Linked DNA regions of Homo sapiens: region 2 is linked to region 1. The links are contacts of gene promoters, found by promoter capture Hi-C in blood cells and fetal thymus (Javierre and others, 2016). All regions are on one chromosome and are shown on one strand. Each heading gives the region's core, a stretch centred on a gene start or on the middle of the fragment in contact. The rest is flanking DNA. Distances are from core to core; before and after follow the strand shown. Region 1 holds the start of ZNF714 (zinc finger protein 714). Region 2 overlaps ZNF43 (zinc finger protein 43).

Region 1 (2,700 bases), core at 189-2,688:
TACAATTTAGTCAGATACTTTGGTGCTATGCAAATACAATGCTTATTTTTTAAGTGTTATTTACAATTTTTACACTCCTCAGTTAACCTTGGATACAATAATAACTGGTGGTTTTGTGATGGTTTCTTTAGCATTTTATCTATGTTGATTAGTATTTGGAATTCTGTAAAAAAAAATTTCCCTATCCTTTTTTCTTTTTTATTTATTTAAAGTTTTTTGTGTATCAGTGTAAATGCATGGGTATTTATTTATTTGACTTGATTTATTTTATAGGTCAGTGCTCTAATTATTCATTTGGATGCTAACATTGTTCCAGGATGGACCATTGGGAGTTCTTTCAGGCTGGCTCCCTTTGACATGTTCCCATCATTTTTTAAAATTAAAAAAAAAGAAAGAAAAAACATTTTGAGGCTGGGTGCGGTGGCTCACGCCTGTAATCCCAACACTTTGGGAGGCCAAAGCGGGCAGATCACCTGAGGTCAGGAGTTCAGGACCAGCCTGGCCAACATGGTGAAACCCCGTGTCTACTAAAAATACAAAAAATTAGCCGAGCATGGTGGCGCGCGCCTGTGATCTCATCCAGCAGTGCTTTACTTGTAATTATTTTATTCCTGCTGCCGTCTCCTCTTTCTTTGGCCACTATCTGTTCCACCCCCGGAACGGAAGAGAGATGTTGGTAGGGAGAGGCTCTTCCTTCACCTCTGGCAGAAAAGGTTTGCTTGGGCCCTTCACACCGCTGACATCAGAGCTGCACTTCAATGTGGCAGTTATTGGCCATGTGTGGCGCCTGGTCTGAAGTGCGATGCTAGAAAGGTAAAATACAGAGTTAGTTTCAAAGATTTAGTTCCAAATATTTATATACTTTATTAATAATTACATATTTCTCACACATTAAAATGAAAATTTTTTTGATATATTGGGTTAATTAAATTGTTACAATCAATTCAACCTGTTCTTGTTTCTTTTTCAAGTTTGGCTACTAGAAAACTTAAAATTCACATATGGCTCACATTTTATTTCAGAGGATTACCTCCTTTCTAAAATCTCAGCCTGCCTGCTCAAAGACCAGAAAGAAGCCAGGAAGGTCATAAAATCTGAAATTTTAAAATAATTGTTATTATAAAATTATATTTTTTCCTTTGTGAAGAGCCATATATTATTTATAAATGCATATGACTTTACACACAAGTTTAAAGGCAAATTCCCTCTGGGGTGGGCCTGGCTCAGCTCTGGGAGGAAGCCCTGCCTGAGAAGGCTGCAGCCTAGGCTGTCACCCTTTCTTCACTCAGCCCAGCAACTGATCACATCTTCTGTCACTCAGGGCACGAGAAGGTGGGGTTTTAAAAGTTATCCAATCAGCGACGCTGGGTTGGGAACCGTCCAATCAGGCCTGCAGCTGGAGCGGACAGGACGGCTTCGGGGATGTGGCGGGGCCTTTGTCTCTCGCTGCAGCTGGAGCTGCAGGTCTCGCCTTCACTGCCCTGTGTCCTCTGCTCGCAGAGGCCCAGCCTCTGTGGCCCTGTGACCTGCAGGTATTGAGAGATCCACAGCTAAGACGCCAGGTACCCCGGAAGCCTAGAAATGGTGAGAGTGCCGGGTCCGACATCCCGAGAGAGGGGAAGGGGCGGGTTGTAAGCGGTGGGAAGTGGCTGTGGTGGGACTTAGGCCTCCCCGCAGTCAACTCTACAATCTGCGCCCGGAGTTCTCCTTGCTCAGCTCGGCCTCAGTCCCCTTCAGCCATAAGATGGCGGCTGCGCTGACTGCGGGATCCCGGGCGTCCTGTCTTTTCCCTGCGCAGTGACTGGGCCCTGACCTGGAGTCCTCTCAGGGCAGCTCTGGACCCTCAGCGGCGCGTCTCTCCCGGATTGTGCAGGGACCACTGGAGGGTCCCAGGGGTAGAATCCTGACTCGGGGTGCGGGTTTATGAATGGGTCCGTGGGGTTCCAGTTCCTCTTCTGTTGAAAATGTATGGGAGTCACCGTTAAAACACTAAAGCATTTAATCAAAGCGTGATTCAAAAATTGTGGAGCACCCAGCTGTGGTTTGTAATTTATGGTTTATGGGCGGGGCTTGAAGTAAAGACTTTTATAAACAGCATGATGAAGAAAACCAAATTCAGTAATTGGTTAGGTTCAGATACATAGTTTCTTAATTTGTAAAATAAAGGTGAAAATTTCCTGGTTATGTAATTAGATGTTAATTGGCAGTTTATAGTTGGTTAAGGATGAATTTTGTTTCTCTCAATGTAGTAATTTACTAAAAATGCACCTCAGTTAGATTTTTTTTTTTTAAGATGGAGTTTCGCTCTTGTTGCCCAGGCTGGAGTGCAATGGGGCGATCTTGTCTCACCGTAACCTCTGCCTCCCGGGTTCAAGCGATCCAATGCTTCAGCCTCCCAGGTAGCTGGGATTACAGGCATGCGCCACCACGCCCGTCTAATTTTGTGGTTTTAGTAGAGACGGGTTTCTGCATGTTGGTCAGGCTGGTCTCGAACTCCCGACCTCAGGTGATCTGCCCTCCACGGCCTCCCCAAAGTGCTGGGATTACAGGCGTGAGCCACCGCGCCCAGCCAGATTTTTTTAAAAGTAGGAATCCAGGGACTAGAGACACCTCAGTCTAATTTCCCGCCGCTTAATTATTTTCACACTCCATGGGGAACTGATTTTCTGGTGCATTTTTCAACTGTGTCCCAAGCACTGT
Region 2 (2,702 bases), core at 139-2,638, 750 kb after region 1:
AAGCTGAGGCGGGTGGATCACCTGAGGTCAGGAGTTCGAGACCAGCCTGACCAACATGGAGAAACCCTGTCTCTACTCTAAAAGTACAAAATTTAGCCAGGCATGGTGGCACATGCCTGTAACCCCAGCTACTCAGGAGGCTGAGGCAGGAGAATCACTTGAACCCAGTAGGCGGAGGTTGCAGTAAGCTGAGATCATGCCATTGTACTCCAGCCTGGGCAACAGGAGTGAAACTCCGTCTCAAAAAAAGTAAATTTAAGGAAAAAAAAAAAATACAGCCGGACGCGGTGGCTCACGCCTGTAATCCCAGCACTTTGGGAGGCCGCAGCGAGCAGATCACGAGGTCAGGAGATCGAGACCATCCTGGCTAACACGGTGAAACCCCGTCTCTACTAAAAATACAAAAAAATAGCCGGGTGCCCTGGCGGGCGCCTATACTCCCAGCTACTTGGGAGGCTGAGCCAGGAGAATGGCGTGAACCAGGGAGGCGGAGATCGCAGTGAGCCAAAATGGCGCCACTGCACTCCAGCCTGGGCGAAAGAGAGAGACTCTGTCTCAAAAAAAAAAAAAAAAAAAAAAAAAAAAAAAAATTAGCCGGACGTGGTGGCACGTGCCTGTAGTCCCAGCTACTCCAGCTACTCAGGAGGCTAAGGCAGGAGAATCGCTTGAACCCATGAGGCAGAGGTCACAGTGAACCGAGATCGTGCCACTGCACTCGAGCCTGGGTGACAGAGTGAGACTCCATCACAAAGGAAAAAAAAACAAAAAACACCACACACAAAAAAAACTACACAGACTCCAAGGTTGAGTTTACACACTGAACTGTTCTTGCTTTTGCAGTGTAAGTACTTCAGCCTGCAAATATTAGATTACCTTGGATTATCAGTTTTCTGTCAAAGAAATTTATTCAGTATTTTTTAGTTTTTACCATTCTGTATTTCTAAATTTAATTCGTTCTTCGTACTAAACTTCTGTGTGCTCTTAAAATGAGCTTTAATCTAAACAAATCTGTGTCTACTTTAAAAGACTAAAAAAAAAATTAAATTTTCCCAAATCAAGGATAAGCAATGAATCTGAGGTCTTAAATAAAGACAATCTTGAGTCAAAAGAATGCCAAAAGATTTGGCTGTTAATATGATTTAAATATATTTCAAAAAAGCAATAAAAATATCTCCATATAATCTAAATGCTTTAAGATAAAAGAGTTGAACAAGATAGTCTCTCTTATTTTCAGGTAGGATAATAAAGCCTCTGATTTATATTTTCTTTTACAACAGCCAGGTCTCTGGACATATTGAACTCTTGAACATCTGAATTTCAGTAGACATTGGATTCATTGAGCTCCGTCTCAAAAAACAAAAAAACACAAAACCTGACATCATAAAAGAACAAGAGAAGAAAAAGCAAACTGACCTCTAAGCTAACAGAGGACAAGAAATGAAAATCAGATCTGAACTGGAGAGTTAGACAAAAAAATGATAAAAATATGGAGAAGGCTGGGTGCAGTGGCTCACCCCTGTAATCGCAGCATTTTGGGAGGCCGAGGTGGGCAGATCACTTGAGGTCTGGAGTTCGAGACCAGCCTGGCAAAATAGTGAAACCCGGTCTCTACTAAAAATACAAAAATTGGCCATGTGTATTGGTGGGCACCTGTAATCCCAGCTACTCAGGAGGCTGAGGCAGGAGAATTGCTTGAACCAGGGAGGCGGAGGTTGCAGTGAGGCGGAGGTTGCAGTGAGGCAAGGTTGTGCCACTGCACTCCAGCCTGGGCAATAGAGAGAGATTCTGTTTCAAAAACAAAATGAAAAAAAAAAACAAAACAAAAAACAAACAAACAAACAAAAAAAGAAATCCAGGAGTAAAATCTTTGAAAGAATTAATAAGATAAATAGCACTCTAGAGAGATTAATGAAGAAAGAGAAGATCCAAATAAACACGATTAGAAATGACAAAATGGCCATTAACACTGACCCAACAACAACAAAATAATTATTCAAGTCTGTAACGAACACCTCTATGTAAACAAACCGGAAAATCTAGAATAGATCAATTCCTAGACACGTACATCCTCCAAAGACTGAAAAAAAAAAAAAAAGTATCCCTGAAGAGACCAACAAGATTCAAAATTGAAGTATAATAAATAGCCTAGAAACCAATAAAAAACCAGAATCAGACATATTCACAAAAGAATTCTACCAGATGTACAAAAAAAAAAAAGCTGATACCATTCTTACTAGAGCCATTCCAAAAAATTGAGAAGGAACTCTTCCCCAACTCATTACATAATAGCATTATTCTGATACCAAAACCTGGTATAAAACAAAAAAAGAAAACTTCATGCCAATGATCTTAATAAAAAATGATGGAAAAATTCTCAACAAAATACTGGCAAACTGAATCCAGCAGCACATCAAAAAGCTAATCTACTATGATCAAGTAGCCTATATCCCTGGGATGCAAGGTTATTTCAACATACACAAATCAATAAATGTGATTAATCACATAAACAGAACTAAAGACCAAAACCACAAGATTATCTCAATAGATGCAGAAAAATCTTTCAAGAAAATTTAACATTCTTCATGTTAAAACCCTCAACGAACTAGGCATTAAAGGTACATACTTCAAAATAATGAGTTATCTGTCACAAACTCAAAGCCAATACACTGAATGGACACACAGAAGTTGGAAGCATTTCTCTT

Evidence for each region. Contacts are between HindIII fragments. The CHiCAGO score rates a contact against its expected background, and 5 or more counts as called.
Region 2: a fragment that was not itself captured here is called in contact with the fragment with the promoter of ZNF714 in region 1 in 1 of 17 cell types (fetal thymus); the score reaches 5.3 in fetal thymus.

Annotation. Positions count from the first base shown.
Region 1 is chr19:21,080,765-21,083,464 of GRCh38, forward strand. ZNF714 (zinc finger protein 714) reads left to right here and starts at 1,439. Exons shown (of 5, transcript NM_182515.4): 1 at 1,439-1,584. RefSeq lists an enhancer at 1,778-1,927. The HindIII fragment of the contact is 3,534 bases long and covers 1-2,700 here.
Region 2 is chr19:21,828,476-21,831,177 of GRCh38, forward strand. The region is part of intron 1 of ZNF43 (zinc finger protein 43); the gene reads right to left. Among named protein-coding and RNA genes, the nearest start is that of ZNF43, 6.4 kb to the right of the region's middle. The HindIII fragment of the contact is 3,605 bases long and covers 1-2,702 here.